Regions from separate parts of the Homo sapiens genome. Here regions 2 and 3 are each linked to region 1. Evidence: promoter capture Hi-C in 16 types of primary human blood cells and fetal thymus (Javierre and others, 2016). All regions are on one chromosome and are shown on one strand. Each heading gives the region's core, a stretch centred on a gene start or on the middle of the fragment in contact. The rest is flanking DNA. Distances are from core to core; before and after follow the strand shown.

The links. The method cuts DNA at HindIII sites, captures the fragments that hold promoters and counts their contacts. A CHiCAGO score of 5 or more calls a contact.
Region 2: a contact is called between a fragment that was not itself captured here and the fragment with the promoter of FRS2 in region 1, in 2 of 17 cell types (neutrophils and M2 macrophages). The highest score is 5.8, in neutrophils.
Region 3: a contact is called between a fragment that was not itself captured here and the fragment with the promoter of FRS2 in region 1, in 3 of 17 cell types (non-activated CD4 T cells, activated CD4 T cells and naive CD4 T cells). The highest score is 5.9, in non-activated CD4 T cells.

Annotation. Positions count from the first base shown.
Region 1 is chr12:69,469,130-69,472,226 of GRCh38, reverse strand. FRS2 (fibroblast growth factor receptor substrate 2) reads right to left here and starts at 1,839. Exons shown (of 9, transcript NM_001278356.2): 1 at 1,697-1,839. RefSeq lists enhancers at 1,446-1,495, 1,667-2,168. The HindIII fragment of the contact is 4,260 bases long and covers 1,065-3,097 here.
Region 2 is chr12:69,279,417-69,282,373 of GRCh38, reverse strand. No RefSeq gene overlaps it. Among named protein-coding and RNA genes, the nearest start is that of MIR1279, 7.7 kb to the right of the region's middle. The HindIII fragment of the contact is 7,876 bases long and covers 1-2,957 here.
Region 3 is chr12:69,261,308-69,264,302 of GRCh38, reverse strand. It overlaps CPSF6 (cleavage and polyadenylation specific factor 6), which reads right to left. Exons shown (of 10, transcript NM_007007.3): 9 at 1,741-1,930. The coding sequence ends at 1,744. Among named protein-coding and RNA genes, the nearest start is that of MIR1279, 10 kb to the left of the region's middle. The HindIII fragment of the contact is 2,252 bases long and covers 312-2,563 here.

The sequences.
Region 1 (3,097 bases), core at 590-3,089:
TAGTCCTAGCCACTCAGGAGTCTGAGACAGAAGGACTGCTTGAGTCCAGGAGTTGGAGGCTGCAGTGAGCTATGATGGGGCCACTGTGCTGCAGCCTGGGCAGCAGAATGAGGCTGTCTCGAAAAGAAAGAAAAAAGAAAAGAAAGGAAGAGGAAAAAGAAAAGTTGTGCAGCTAATCTCTCCACAATTTTTTCCAAGGACTTTAAAAATCATCTACCCTTTGCCTGTTCAAAATCAACAACCTTGAAATAAATTTTCCTTTGCATAGGAAAAGCTCACTGAACTTGTCACTTCAGTCTATTTTTCCTGATTCATGATACCACCTCCCCTTTCAGGGGTGGGAGGAAAGAGAATGACATAAGTACCCAAAAAACTACAGAATAAACCCTAATCTACACACAAGATGAGAGTTGCAGATAGCGTCACTGGTTTCAAGAAGGTGATTTGTGAATACTTTACGCTGCAAAAACAGTGGCCATCTGCTAATAGCAATAATCTGCAGTAACTGCATTCCCTTATAAAAAGTTTTTAAATCACCATTTATTGTGGAAAACCCATATTTCCTACAAACCTTTCAGCAGTAAAGTTTACTACCTAAAATCTGTTCACTAAACCTACCTACATCACTTTCTCCCCTAGGAAATCCTCAGTTTATCCGAAGTAAACACTTCATGGAATAAGTTTAAACAAAACATCTCTGCCCACCTGTGTGAAACTCTGCATTGCAGCAACAATTTTAACAGTGTAAGGAATCTCTCAAGAAAATCCAAGAACAATTTTTCCTTAAGAAAAATGACAGTTCCAAATATGAAGGTAAACAAACTTTGGGAGAAAGGATATAACTGTCCAACTCTTTAAAATCAATTCGTACAGCCTCTGAATGAACTCATCATACAACTGTGACATCAGATAGCCAAAAGAATTAAGAGTGTAGATTAGAGAAAAGCATCTTTTTTTTTTTAGTATGTCTGCAAAAAAAGGCGGGGGAGGGGGTGTCTAAACTACTGATTTTCCTTAAGCAAGTTTTTTCTTTAAGTTTACTTCAACAACAGCTTCAGCAAGCTTTCAAGTGAGTAAAGATGATACAGAGCATGCTGGTGCCACAGCGACCTACGTATCCAGGACCGGTTCCGAGCCCAGTCCAAATCGATCCCGGACAACCCTGAAGCAAATCTGGATGAAAAGCCCTGCAAAAGATCCCTGGCATGTACAGGCAGCGCCCCACCCTGGAGGGAAAAGACGACACCCCTGGGACCCGGGTTAATTACTGACCCCAGGACAGACCCAGAGGAGGCGAAAAGTCGGGAACTGGAGCCCAAGATTGAGTCTGGTGTCCAGCTACTACCCCAGGCCGGACACAGAATACCAAACTAGGGAGCGGCGAGGTTTGGGGCAGCACACATGAGGGGGGTCGGACGGACGAACAGAGGCCCAGCCCATCCCCACTCTCGAGTCCCAACAGCAACAACAGCTCTGGGAACCCCCTCCCTGGCTCCGCCCCGCCCACCCCATGGACCCACAGCCAGCTCTTCCCGTCCCGCTGGCCCGGAGAAGTCCGCGGCGGTCGACAATCCCCTTCCCCGGACGCCGGCAGCCGAGCCCTCAGCCCGGATCCCGAAGCGGGCAGCGGGGGCACGAGAACGCCAGCTCCGACGCGGGCCCGCGGCCGTCCCAGTCCGTTTCCCTAGCCACTCACCGTCCGCCCAGGTGCTGAGAGGGAGCAGGGCGCGGGTCGGCGGGCGCGAACCCCCAGACTCCGACCCGCGCTGGAGCCCCTACTTGGAGCAGATCGAGTCTCAGCCGCTGTGCCTACAAGGCCTCTCTCCGGCCCGAATCTTGGAAAAGCACTTCCGGGGGAGCGGGGGAGGGAAGGGTTTTGGCACCGGAACTGCTCTCAGCCCGGAGCTGCCAGGGCCTCCAGGGCGGGGCGGGGCCTCTCTCGCCGGGCGCCCACAGATCAGCCTCTGGGCTCCTAACTAACCCTTTCCGCCCCGCGCCTCCTCGATTCCCCGGCTACTGCTGCACCCTTTGCTTTAACTGCTGTTTGAGTTGTTTTACTCCAGCCAGCTAATTTTACAAATAAGGAAACCGAGGCTCGGAGAATTAGGTGCAAGAATCCAGTGCCTACACCCGGCCTCCCGACTCCCTTCAGTGTACTCTACGCTCCAATCTGCCTCCTTTAAAAAATAATGATAATAGTTAACATTTATTGAACGCTTACTACGTGGTAGGCACTGTATTAAGTCCCTTCGGGTGCATTAACTTATTTAATCATCCCCAAACTCCTTGGGGTTGGTGCTATTATCTACGTCTTGCAGGGGAGAAAAACGGTCAAAGATACCAAACCCAATCTCACAAATGTTGGTTGATTTTAATTCACGTGTGTATAAATCTCATCTACCTATACCAAGATTTTGAAATTATTTAAAAACAGGGCTCAAACTATATTCCTATATTCTGTCATCACTGGTGACTTCAACAGAGGCGAGAGCTGGGGTTGGGGGGTTGGGGGGGTTGGGGTGGGGATCTGGAATCTTTTTGCTTGTCTCCTTTTATTTACTTTTATTTTTTCACCCTGGCAAGTTATAAAATCATCTCTGCATTGTAGGAATCCAAAATGATAATGCATGATAAACATTTCAGAATGTCTGGCATTGGATAAAAGTTAACGATTCTTATACCTCATCAGCAATAGGCAATAGAAAAGATTAGTTAAGGAAATAAGAAAGAGTAGGGGTTGGCCGGGCGCGGTGGCTCACGCCTGTAATCCCAGCACTTTGGGAGGCCGAGGCGGGTGGATCATGAGGTCAGGAGATCGAGACCATCCTGGCTAACAAGGTGAAACCCCGTCTCTACTAAAAATACAAAAAATTAGCCGGGCGCGGTGGCGGGCGCCTGTAGTCCCAGCTACTCGGGAGGCTGAGGCAGGAGAATGGCGTGAACCCGGGAAGCGGAGCTTGCAGTGAGCCGAGATTGCGCCACTGCAGTCCGCAGTCCGGCCTGGGCGACAGAGCGAGACTCCGTCTCAAAAAAAAAAAAAAAAAAAAAAAGAAAGAGTAGGGGTTTTTACAACTGGAAAAATACAGGTGCTTGTGAA
Region 2 (2,957 bases), core at 216-2,715, 190 kb after region 1:
CAGTGGCTCACGCCTGCAATCCCAGCACTTTTGGGAGGCCGAGGAGGGTGGATCACTTGAGCCCAGGATCTGAGACCAGCCTGGGCAACATGGCAAAATCCGCCTCTACAAAAAATACAAAAATCAGCTGGGTGTGGTGGTGCACATCTGTAGTCCCCGCTATGCGGGAGGCTTGAGCCCAGGAGGTTGAGGCTATGATGAACCATGATCATGCCACTGCACGCCAGCCTGGGTGACAGAGTGAGACCCTACATAAAAATAAAAGTATTATCTAAGGATTCTCTAAGGTAACAATCTAAATACTAAATAACTTCCTTTTAAATGACTCTCATTGTGTGCACTAAGTAAACTTAGAAACATTTTCAGTATAAGAATGGAAATAAAAAGGGTTTGATTTGATTAGCTAACTCCACCATAATAGAATATATTAGGTTAATTCTGGTTTGATAGATTAGAAAAGGATCTTTCAGATCTTTCTTGGTTCCTAAATCAGATCTTCAGTTCCTGGGTCTGCCCTTTACTGGTTGTATTACTGAACTGTTTCCTCAATTATTAAAATGGAAATACCAAATCATGATTTACCGATTCATTTCTTATGTACGCCTATCTCTAGATGGAAGCACACAACTAACATTTAAATATATTTAAGCCACTCTAACAATCACGAAATAGTTAAAAATAAGATACCCATTTCCACCACTAAGATAGATTTTTAAAAGCACTAATTACTGAAAAGAATGTGGAGAAATACACATTTTCACATACAGCTTGGGTAAAAGTAAATCGGGACAATTTAATGTGTCAAAAACTCAAATATTCATACTCTGAATCAAGCACTCCAAGAAATTCATTACTGGAAAACAGATATTTGCACTAAGATTTACCTATAAGGAAATTCATTGCAGCATCCTTTATAATACTCAAAAACCTAGTGAAATAACCTGAACACCCAGTGGCAAGAACTGGTTAAAATTATGTTACAAGTTGAAACACCAGGTAGCCATTAAAAGTAGTTTAAAGGCACAATTTGTCAATCTTTAATGTGCATACAAATCACTGGGGATCTTGCTCAAATGTACATTTTGATTTCGCATGGTACATTCTGCACTTGTGACCAGTTCCCAGACCAGGTGATGCCAATGTTGATACCCTGTAGACCATACTTTCAGGAGCAAACTTAGAGCATTTAAGAAAATGTCAATATTCTAAAAGCCCTCAGTTGGCCCCACATAACCTAACTATACATTCTCTCTATAAAACTGACTTAGTCACACAAAATACATCATATCCAAGAACTCATGCTACTAGTAATGTTTAGAGTCAGCTGTTTATTTCTAAACTATGTCAATGGTAATTTTGCTTGTGATTTCATCTCAGTATTATGTAAACCAATGAAACATTTGAGTGCAAAAGAGAATTGGTTCAATGAAAACTAAGTTTACTTTGGTTTTTCTTTTTGAGACAGGGTCTCACTGAGTGTCTGTCGCACAACCTGGGGTGCAGTGGGACAATCTTCACTTGCTGCAGCCTCGACCTACCACGCTCAGGCGAGACTCCCGCATCATTCTCCTGAGTAGCTGGGACCACAAGCCTGTGCCACCACATCCAGCTAATTTTTGTATTTTTGTAGAGATGGGGTTTCACCATACTACCCAGGCTAGAACTCCTGAGCTCAAGCGACCCACCCGCCTTGGCCTCCCAAAGTGCTGGGATTACAGACATGAGCCACTATGCCCGGCAAGTTAAGTACTTTGTAAAGTCTCCATAAAAATGAGCTGCTTTAAAAATTGCCATTAACAATGAAATAACCACTTGTCCCCATTAGGATGACTACTATCAGATAAAAAGAAAAGCATAAGTATTGTTGAGGATGTACAGAAACTACAATCTTCATGCACTGCTGGTGAGAACGTAAAATGGTATAGTAGCTGTGGGAAAGTTTCATGATTCCCCAAAAAGTTAAACATAGAATTACCATTACCCAGCAATTTCACTCCTATATACCCAGAACTGAAAACAGGGACTTACAGATAGTTGTACACCTATGTTCATAGTAGCATTATTCACAATATTCAAAAGGTAGAAACAAGCTGTCCACTGACAGATGGATAAACATGTGGCATATATGTACATAAAATGGGATGATATTCAGCCACATATTGACACATGCTACAACATGGATGAATCTTAAAAACATACCAAGTGAAATAGCCAGGCGCAGTGGCTCACACCTGTAATCCCAGCACTTTGGGAGGCCGAGGCGGGCGGATCATGAGGTCAGGACATTGAGACCATCCTGGCTAACACGGTGAAACCCCATCTCTACTAAAAATATAAAAAATTAGCCTGGTGTGGTGGCGGGCACCTGTAGTCCCAGCTACTCGGGAGGCTGAGGCAGGAGAATGGCATGAATCCGGGAGGCGGAGCTTGCAGTGAGCCGAGATTGCACCACTGCACTCCAGCCTGGGCGACACAGCGAGACTCCGTCTCAAAAAAACAAAAAACATACTAAGTGAAATAAACCAGAGCCAAAACACAAATATTGTATGATTCTGTTTATATGATGTAGCCAGAATAGGCAAATTCAGAGACAGAAGTACAAGAGAGATGATCGGGGACTGGGGCTAGGGTGGGAATGGGGAGTTTGTTTGGGATGATGGAAAAGTTCTGGAAATGGATAGTGGTGATGGTTGCAAAACACTGTGAATGTATTTAATGCCACTGAATTGTATGCTTAAAAATTGTTAGAATGTCAACTTCTATATGCTTTACAATTTTAAACATGCTGACGCAGCTCTTAAAATAGTTGCTAACAAGACAGTGAGGCAGAACTACAATTCAAGATCCTTCATTCAAATATTAACATTTGCTTGCCACAAGCTGATGTAGACACTTGGGATTTAACAGAAACTACAATAAGATCCTTGCTTTCATGGGACTTTATATTTGAACGAACA
Region 3 (2,995 bases), core at 188-2,687, 210 kb after region 1:
AAGTTTCATTATCATGCCTTTACTAACAAGAAGCTTGCTGATAACTTATAAAGTCCAAAAAAATAGGTAACTTACAGAACCTGTACCCTTCTATAATGGAAATGACTGACATAGGTAAGCATTTCAACTAATAACCCAGTCACAATCCAGTTTAAGCAACTGATGGATATTGAGAATTTTTTCATTAAGATGGGATCAGATGTATTTAACTCAGGGGAAAAAAGTGCTACATCTTTAAAATTTAGTGTTTAGATTTACATAATACAACATTCAATTTTTACATTCAAAAACAATATCAATTTCAATAAGCTTAGTTTTAAAAGTAAAAGGTTTTTTTGCCTCATATTAAAAGAATGTTTTGAGATTTATATTAAATTTTGTAATACATGGAAAACTACAAATTAAAGTTTTGATATTCAATCTGCATATTCAAAATGCAAAGTATCAAAACCAGCCTTTTAACTCAAAAAGCCCTTAAAATTGTAAATAGTGTAGGAGCTTATATCTGTGTTCCATAAAAATAGCATGCTTATTTTCTAGGCATTTAAGGACTTCATTTGCGTATCTGTTATGGTTAAAGAAATTGGTATTCTGTCACAGAATTACATACACTTGATAAAACCTTTAATTTTGCCCATAACAATTTAAATACTAACAATTACCATGACTGAATTTTCAGTAAGTTTCCCATGATTACTGAAAATAATCACATAAAGAGTATTTACCTATGAGGGGTTTGTTTAGCCTTAATTTAATTTGAATATGCCAACCAACATATAAAGAAAAAATATTTTAATTTACAGAATAACCTTTGTGTCACATGCATAAGCCTTATAGTGCCCTCCCCCAGCTCTTCACATGAATAAATGCTATTAACAAATATAAAAAATAAAATTACATGTGAAAATGAAGCATAAACAGACAACTCTTCCCACTTCATGAAAAATGTACACAAGAAAGTTTTAAAATACAGAAAAAAAGACAATGATTATGATTTATGAATGAAACATCAAAGAAAATTATTTCAAGGTATTCTAAACTTGGGTATATGGCTTGACACAATTTAAAATTTTTAGATATAAATCAGTGCACCCTAAACCCATTTTAATTGATTAACTTTTACATCTTCTTTGCAAATTAAAGGATACTGTTTCTTTTAAAAACAAAAAGCAGATGTCAGGATAGTGTCTCTTCTAAAAAAAAAAATTTTTTTTTTAAAGGAAAATTCTCTTTGAATGTTGAGAAAACACCCTCCTGTATTATAAACTATTATTGTGTTAGATTTTCTCATAAATTTTTAGGGACAAATAAAACTAGTTCAAAAATAGTAACTTTCCATTTATTTTTAAAAATCCAAACACATAACATATATGTGAAATAACTCCCTGTGTTTTGTATTTTAAATTGCATGCAACCTATGTATGTGATACAAGAACCCCAATTTTTAGATTTTAGAAGTACACAATGAGTCCTCTTGATTATTTCCTTGCTTTGTTAAGACCATTAACTATTTGAAACCTGAAAGTGATAACTCAGCAATAAAATATTCATAAGATAAAGGGTCAAAATTTTTACCTGTCATTACTTACCTATAATTTGTTTCAGATGTTTCCAGAAGATTAAATTCACAAGTAGTTGGACCATTTAAAATGTAGGTATATACTGTATAAACAGTAGCCTTGGAGTTATAGTTACTGTTAAGAATACACACACATTTAACAGGGAACAAGGAATACCCACCTTCTAACGATGACGATATTCGCGCTCTCGGTCACGCTCTCGGTCACGGTCTCGGTCACGATCCCGGTGCCTCTCTCGTTCTCTGCTTCTCTCTCTGTAATAATCGTCATGACGGTCTCTACTACGGGATTTATGACGTCGACTCTTTTCTCGTGATCTACTATGGTCCCTCTCTCTTGATCGTTCACGTCTTCTAAAAGAAATTACTGGATTAATGCTCTCCATAATTAGATAGCCTAAAAATATTCAATTTTTTGATGTCTAAAAAAACTTAGGCAGCAAAAATTCTTTGTAAATCTGGTTTAAACTTACTATCCTGAGCTGCCAATAACGACTTACCAACTCACCAGGTAAGCATGAACCAGAAATTTCACTATTAAAAACATTAACAAAAAAATCAGCAACCAGACACATCACAGAAATGCATCACATCATCTATTAAACTAGTAGCCTAAAACAGATGTGTAGTATTTACTGAATGCACAAATAGAAAGGTAAAGGGAAAATTTCAAAGCACTCGTGTTTCAAGCTAAAGAACATCTACAATATGGTTTTTTTAGATATAAAAGTCATGAAATCACAACACACAATGGGGCTTAAATACATGAATATGACAACCTCTTAACATATGGTTCATGAGCAGCATCCAACACAAAGAAACCTTCTAATACGCATGTTATATTCAGGGGAGGAGAAGAGGCATGGGAGAGGGCTAACAATTATGACCAGTAGCAAGAATAGATATAGTATTCACATTGTATTTAATAAGTAGAAATGTTTCATGAACTGCGATTTTTTAAAAACAAATAATTTAACCAAAGCTTACTACCCAAAAGACTTCTATAAATTCTGCTAAATTCACAGTAAGGAAATAATAACTGTCTACGAAATAATATTTATGTCTTGTATTTCTGCACCAGACAGCTAAGCTTAGCAAACATTAGGTGCTAAAATCCTTGATCAAGGCCTAAGTTATTACTTTGTTTTTTCAAGATAGGGTCTCTCTCTCTCTCTCTGTCACCCAGGCTGGAGTGCAGGGACATGATCACAGTTCATTTCATCCTCGACCTCTGAGGCTCAAGCAACCCTCCCACCACAGCCTCCCAAGTAGCTGGGACTATAGGCATGCACCACCAGGCCCAGATATTTTTAAAATTTTTTTGTAGAAAAACTCCTTATGTGGCCAAGGCTGGTCTCAAACTCCTGGGGCTCACGTGATCCTCCTGCCTTGGTCTCCCAAAGTGTTGGGATTAAA